2 separate regions of the Homo sapiens genome follow, and region 1 is linked to region 2. The links are contacts of gene promoters, found by promoter capture Hi-C in blood cells and fetal thymus (Javierre and others, 2016). All regions are on one chromosome and are shown on one strand. Each heading gives the region's core, a stretch centred on a gene start or on the middle of the fragment in contact. The rest is flanking DNA. Distances are from core to core; before and after follow the strand shown. Region 1 holds the start of RPS19 (ribosomal protein S19). Region 2 holds the start of CNFN (cornifelin).

Evidence for each region. The method cuts DNA at HindIII sites, captures the fragments that hold promoters and counts their contacts. A CHiCAGO score of 5 or more calls a contact.
Region 1: the fragment with the promoter of RPS19 here is called in contact with the fragment with the promoter of CNFN in region 2 in 3 of 17 cell types (naive B cells, total B cells and naive CD4 T cells); the score reaches 8.9 in naive B cells.

Annotation. Positions count from the first base shown.
Region 1 is chr19:41,857,999-41,861,695 of GRCh38, reverse strand. RPS19 (ribosomal protein S19) reads right to left here and starts at 1,441. Exons shown (of 6, transcript NM_001022.4): 1 at 1,407-1,441; 2 at 851-921; 3 at 484-584. The coding sequence starts at 921. RefSeq lists silencers at 1,120-1,239, 1,300-1,429 and an enhancer at 983-1,738. The HindIII fragment of the contact is 18,374 bases long and covers 1-3,355 here.
Region 2 is chr19:42,389,040-42,392,812 of GRCh38, reverse strand. CNFN (cornifelin) reads left to right here and starts at 2,516. Exons shown (of 4, transcript NM_032488.4): 1 at 2,516-2,573. The HindIII fragment of the contact is 9,287 bases long and covers 1-3,773 here.

The DNA.
Region 1 (3,697 bases), core at 192-2,691, 530 kb after region 2:
ATAACTACTGTGCAACAGACACGTTCTAAACACTCTGCTTTAAATTCATTCAATCCTTGCAATACTCTAGTACTGGTACAATAATTAGTCCCATTTTGGGGATGAGAGAGTGCACAGGCAGGTTAACCAACTTGCCAGAGGACACACAGCCAGATGTAAAAGATGGATCCAAACCCAGGGAGTCTGCCTCCGTGTATATAGAAAGGATTAAACCACCTGTAAGCAAAATATGAACATTCATCTGTCTCTGGTTTCCCCTGAGGCTCAAAGCCACAGGTCCTCCTCTCACAAAGCTCTTAGAATGTCATAAAAACTTGGAGTACCAAGTTATCGAATGTCACATCACACAAAGCAAGTGGTGACACAACCAAGGGTTTCTCTCCCTCTTGGGGCGGGAAAGAGCTCAGAGGAGACAGGGAAGTATGGTTTGTGCCAGGGGTCACCCAGCTCCCCACTCTCCAGCCAAAGACCTAAGTTCCTCACCAGCTCGCGTGTAGAACCAGTTCTCATCGTAGGGAGCAAGCTCTTTGTGCTTGGCCAGCTTGACGGTATCCACCCATTCGGGGACTTTCAGCTTCCCGGACCTAAGACCAAAACAGTGGGAAAAGCACGATTCAGTCATCTCCACAAACTACCCCATATCCCAAATGCCCTCCCCTCAACACAACTATGCTGTGCCCAGAGTACAAAGAGAGGCTGGAACCGGAACACAAGCCAGGCCTCACGCTGAAAGGAGCCACGGAGGCCCCAAACAAGCCTCGCCTGCCAGGGACCGGCAAACACTGGGGCTCAGATGGGCAGGCCAAGGCGACAGCCTCCACCCGTTTTGAACCTCAGTCCCCAAACTCACTTTTTGAGGAAGGCTGCCAGAGCTCTGACGAACTCCTGCTGGTTCACGTCTTTTACAGTAACTCCAGGCATCTGAGGGAGAAAGTCAAGCATGTGAACACAGGCCTGGCAGAGACGACTGCCAAGAGCACGGACCCCACCCCAATCCTTTCGCTCCAGCGCATCCTAAACCGTGGTACCCCCCGTTACTTCCCACGGCCCCTTCAACGCCGGGCTCCGGCTCCTGCGGGTCTGAAGGAGCTCACCGACGCCCACGGCCTCTCTGGATCGCACTAACAGAGCCCGGCCCCTGCGTGTGAGGATCCTGCGCGACCCCACTCCCCAGCCCCGGGACTCCGGACGCCCCACGCACCCCGCCGCTGCCCCCCGGGGCCCACGCTCGGTTCCCGGACGGCGCTGACCGGGCATGTCCGGGCCTGCCGCTCGCACGTGGCCGCGGCTCTAGGGGGCGGGACGGGCCCGCGCCGGGCGCCTCGGGGCCCTCAGGCACGCGCTCTGAGGCTTCGGCGTCCGGCCCTGCCGCCTCGCGCCCGGTCCAGCTCGGAGCCCCCGCTTACCGTGCGGCCTCCGCGCTGCCAGCCAGGGGAAAGGGAACGACGGGGTTTCCCGGGCGCACAAGTCGGGCGTAGGGTCTCGCGAGAGTTCCGAAAGCTCGCGAGAGCGAGGGTAGACGCTGAGGCTCCGCCTCTCTCAGGGCGAAAGTTCGTCCCCGCCTAGAGGGGAGGGTGTCTAGTGAGGGGTGGAGAGGTAAAGGGGAGGGCCAAGGGGTCGCGCGTGGAGGCCTGGGTTTCCTCCCGCGTTTCCTTCTCCCGGAGTGTAATAGAGAGAGGATAGAGAGCTCCTGTTCGGAGCTGGGGGAACTTGGCTTCGTTTGCGTCGTTCGTGGCTGGAAGGAACAGTGGTGGAGAATACTATGATGGCGAAAGTACGGGGCAGGATGGGTGGGCCACAGCTGGCGCCCCACGGCGGAACAACCCCTTTTCCGGGTGGAAGTGGCTGTTCCCTGGCCGGAAGTGGGAGTAGTAAGGGCGGAACTGTGACAGGGAACCTAGGGGAAGGGCGAGGAAGAAATGTGGCTATCATCTTCCGTCCTTCACCGCCAGGAGTCGCGAGAGCGGGAGACGGAAGCCCCACCCTTCTCAGGGCGGAAGTTGCTTCAGCACGGCCGGGGCGAGCGAAAAGGGAATGAGGCGCTGGAGGAGGGGAGAAGATAAGGGCGGGACAAAGCGGCAGAGGCGGGACCTTAGCAGAAGTTAGTTCAGCTCTGCCTTCTAGTGTCGGAGTCTGTTCGCTCAGCCCTTACTTTGCCAATTTAGATTTACCTGCCCCGCTGACCTGTGTAGCTTTAGGCAGTCCATTTGCCTTCTCAGGGCTTGTCTCACCATTAAAAAAAAAAAAAAAAAATGAGATCCCCGTTTGTCCATTTAAAGTGGCTCCTCTGGTTCATGGCGCGTCACATGCTCTAAAAAATATTTTTTGAGTGCCTGCTCTGTGCCAGGCACAGGTAAATATTATTTGGACATTTATCATGTGGCTGTTACTGTAGTGTTACATGCATGATCTCATTTAATCCTTACAAGGCCCAACAACTAAATAACGTGGTCCAATAAAATTATGTTAACTTGTTGCAAAAAGGAAACACTGAAATGTGTGTAGCTATTTTCTTATGTTGGAAAGACTGAGAATTTAAAACATAAGAGCAAATATTAGAATTTTACCCCACACTGATACTGTGGCTGCAAAATGTGTTAATTATTAATAAGCCAAGACTCGTATCTGTTAGAAAAATTAAAACCAACCATGCTTCTAGCATAAGATCATATATTTAAATCAAGGTTTTACATTCATGTAGAATGTTGTTGAAACCTATCTCATACTGTTTCTAAAACTTGAGAAAATATTTTCATTATCTCAATTGTTTTTCCAGAACCAACACATACATATTTCCATATGTATTCAAAGTGGGTAATATATGCATGTCTAACTGGAAATCTCCAGGTACTTGGGTAATTTATATTCACTTTTTATAATTTAAGTAATTATTATTTAATTTTTTTTGAGTTGGAGTCTCGCTTTGTCGCCCAGGCGGGAGTGCAATGATGTGATCTTGGTTCACTGCAACCTCCACCTCCCGGGTTCAAGCGATTCTCCGGCCTCAGGCTCCCAGGTAGCTGGGATTACAGGTGCCTGCCACCACACCTGGCTAATTTTTGTATTTTTATAGAGACGGGTTTTCACCACGTTGGCCAGGCTGGTCTCGAACTCCTGACCTCAGGTGATCCACCTGCGTTGGCCTCCCAAAATGCTGGGATTACAGGTGTGAGCCACCGTGCCTGGCCCCCACTTTTAATAATTTCTAATACCAGTTCTGAATCATTTACACTTAATTCATTTAAGTCATTTCATTGAATTTAATTTTTTTTTTTAAAGCTCTCCAGAGGAACTCTGGAGTGCCTGACCAAAGGAAGAGACAGGGTGAATATAGGATTTTGGGAAGAGTGAAGCTTAGGTAAAATTTATATAAAGCAGAGTTTTGATGGACATAAGGCAAAGCAGGCATGTATTTATGCAACGGAGCTAACATCATGCCTGGGCGAGGAGCAGACCCAGGATTCTGCTTCCTTGGACATTAGAAAGTTTAGATAAATGTACAATGTTGTCTCTAAAAACCGCTTCTCTGAGATCATGACTGCTTCTCTGTGTCAAAGTGACTTAGACTTTCCAGGTAAGAATGAGATGTCCCATTTTCACTATTGTTATGATTTTAAAGATTTTTAAAAATTCTGGCAGTCTGTGATTTTAGAGAACACAGTTTCTCAGCACTGTGTCCCTGGTGTTAATTTTTGTA
Region 2 (3,773 bases), core at 1,267-3,766:
AAAGAGGGGGCTGGAGTCCTGAACTCCTCTGTCTTTGATGGTAGGGTTCCAGATTTAGCAAATAAAACTATAGGAAGCCCAATTTAATTTGAATTTTAGATAAATAACAAATACTTTTTTAGTATAAATATGTCCCAAATACTGCATGAAACATGCTAAAAAACCTGTTTGTTGCTTATCTGAATTTCAGATTTTACAGGACAGCCTGTATTTTATGTGGCAACCCTGTTTGAGGAGGATGTAGGCCAATGCCTGGTGACTGGGCCACCATCACTCCTCAGCCCCCCAGGAGCTCCTCCTCCTGCTCACGGCCCTCCTCACCCCCAAGCAGGCCACCTCACAGCTTCCCCAGTCTCTATTTCCTCACCTGCATGAATTGCTAGATCTAATTGGGGCCCCCAGGCTGTGTCAGGAGTGAGAGAGGAAACTTGAGGACAACTCAGAGTGTCATGCTGGGAGCCCTGGGGTCCTCGGAGATGACTGACCTTGAGTCACCTGCACCCTTAGTCTGGACAGCAGGGGGGATGGGGCCCTGTAGCTGCCTCCACAGGGCAGGTCTGGAGATGAACAGAGATGGGAAGCGAGATTCAGAAGAGATTTTGACATAGGAGACAGAGACCCCGGGATAAGGGCACAGAGACACAGAGCCTGGAAGGAGAGGGACCCAGAGATGGAGAGACAGAGATTTGGAAAGAGATTTGCAGAGATGAGGAAAGAAAGACAGATTCACAGCTGGAAAGGTGAAGATGCAGGGTGAGAGACGAAGATTCAGAGATGAGGAGACAGGGATGTTAGGACACAAGTGAGGAGATGTCCCCCAGACATCCAGGCTCTAGGACCAATGACGGACGTGCACCGGCAAGACAGTGAGCGCTGCCGGGAGTTCTGGGGACAGGAAGACCCAACCATCTGGGTGGTGCTGGGAGACCAAGGCTTGGGTCCTAATGTGTTGGAGGGAGGGAGGGAGGGAGGGGACACCTGGGATCCCAGCTAGCAGGGTGATCCACCTGCCATCACCCCATACCCGGCGGGGTGATGACACCACCTTCTCTGCAGGTGACACCCCAGTTTTCTAGTGCCTCCTACATTTTTGGGGTGACACCCGTGCTGAGAACCCCACCCAGCTCTAATGCTGCTTCCCTCACTGAGTCACCTCCCAACCCCGTCAGGCCTGTTGGGGGGAAACTTTGGCGATTCAGGCACCCAGACCCCCAGCTCCTTCCCTGCTCAGGAGCCCAGCAGTGTGGAATCCCAGGACCCCTACCCTACTGAGGGATGTGCAGCCTGGCCTCATGAGACGCAGGAGTCCAGGGCCCCAGCCCCTCCTCCCTCAGACCCAGGGGTCCAAGCCCCCACTCCTTTGCTCCATTAGGACCCAGGAGTCCCAGGTGACGTCCACGTCCTTCAGGAACTGCGGCTTTTCAGTTCCCAGCCTCCTCCCTTCCCAATTTGGAGCTGGGGTGAGGTGTGTTTATTTACTTTGGTTCCAACATGAGTCATTCCCCAAAACACACTGCCCCCCATGTGTCTCCTGGCTTGAATGGGGAGGACACTGTCCCCCTCTCCCAGGAAAGTGGGGATATCACTGAGAGAGATGAGCGAGACCCTGAAAGGGGAGTCCCACACAGCACTCTCTCCCACTCCACCCGGCCTTTTTCTCTCCCCACCCATCACCTCTCCCCATTTCCCTGCCCTCTAAGCCTGTTCAGTGATCCCCCCACCTGCCTCTCCACTTTTCCATCTCCGTCTCTCTTCTGTCTCCCATCTCCCCTTTTCTTTCCTTTTTTTTTTTTAAGACAGGGTCTTGCTCTGTCACTGAGGCCGGAGTGTAGTGGCGGGAACACGGCTCACTGCAGCCTCAAACTTCTGGACTCAAGCGATCCTCCTGCCTCAGCCTCTCAAGTAGCTGGGACTACAGGCACATGCCACCATGCCCGGCTAATTCTATTTGTATTTTTTGTAGAGATGGGGTATCCCTATGTTGCCCAGGCTGGTCTTCAACTCCTGGGCTCAAGCGATCCTCTCACCTCAGGCGATTACAGGGTTGGGATTACAGGCGAGAGCCACCATGCCTGGCCCATCTCCCCTCTTCTTGTTATTTCTTTTCACATTTTTGTGCCCCTCTGTTTCTTGGCACCTCTCCATCTCTCTACATCTTCCTGCGTCTCTCCATCTCTCTGAATCTCCTCTCTCTCCTTTCTGTCTAGAGGGACTTCCCTGCCTGCCTTTCTGACACTGTGTTTCTGTCTCTCCCTCTCTTTTGGTCTCTGCGCATTGACCCGGCTGTGGCCCCCCGCCCCCGCCAAACCTCCCACCCCCCGCCACCTTCTTTTCCCTGGGTCCTGGGAGCTGAGGCAGGAGGAGAAGTGGGGGGATGGGAGTGGAGAGGGAGGGCGGGAAATCCCAGTGTGGGGAGAGGGTCGATCAGACCGGCTTGGCTCCCTGGGCACCTCTGTCAGAGCCCCGCCCAGGGCTGCGTGGCCGCCCATATAAGTGGCTCTGGGCTGAGACGGAGAAGTCAGTGCCCGTGTCTCCACACGTCTGCCTCCATCACTGCCATCGCGATCCTGCAGGTAGGAACATCCCCTCCGCAGCCCTCTTCTTTGAGGTTGGGCGCCTCTGCTCTGTTCTCCCTCCTCCTCATCCCACTCATATCACTCTGTCTCCTTTCATATCGCTGATTGTCGGTCTCTCGGGACATCTCTGTCCTTCCCAATGCCCCCAAATCTGTCCTTCTTAACTGGGGTGTGCTGAGCTGAATTTAGAAGTCTTGGGGCCCAGCATCACCTCTATGAACCCCCTTGGCCTGGGCCGTCAGACGTGGGGCGTTCCTCCTCATGTCTCTGAGCCTCAGTGCTCATCTGTGAGATGGGCTTGCAGAGGAGTCAAAGTGCTGGGCACATGTGGGCATTACTGGTGACATCTCTACGGGCACCTGGCTCTGATCTTTCTCCCCTTGTCTCTGACTCTGTCCATCTCCATTTCTTGTTCTCCCTCAAGCTCTATCTCGGGTATGGGGAGGGTCCTCTGCAATCTGTCGGGCAGTTGGAAAGACATGGGCGAGTTTCTCGCCCCCGCCCTATCCATTCCCTATTCCATGTCTCTCCTGGTTGACAGGCTGACTTGGCCTCTTTCTCCCCAGCTCCCCTCCCCCTGAGAGCCCAGCCCCCAGTGCCCCAGTCCCTTGCCCCCACCTCCCCAGTATCCAGCGTCCCTTGGACAGACTCTGCCACTGTTGCCACAGCCACTTCTGCCGTCCCCAACGCCACCTCCTCAGGGCCAGCAAGATGCAGTTTGAGATGCACGACAACGTGAAAGGCAAAGGTGGGACCGCTGGGTGGACCAGCAACCCTCTCAGTACTGGAACCTGGCCGCCTCCCTCCCCTGGGCACCCTTGCTTCGAAGACAGACGGCGCCTGCTTCCACCCCAGAGGCCCCAGAAATGCTGCAACCCAGAACCCAGGCCCAGACGTGGAGGAGGAGGCGGCACCGCCAGGCCCCACCCAGATGTGGTCCCCACCCTTCCTCAGATGTGCAGGAGACCCCCACCCCCAGCCTAACCAGACGTGCAGGAGCCAGCAGCAACAGGGACAGACTGGGGTTGCCGGTGCCCAGATGTAGCAGAAGGGAAGGGGGAGGCACAGTGGTGTCCCTTCAGTGGGCGGCCTGGCGGCCCCGCCCAGACTGCCCGGCACAGGGAAGGGTGGCCGAAGTGCGGGGCCCAGGAGATGCTGCGAGGCTGCCAGCTGACCCCTACCCTCCCACCTCTGCAG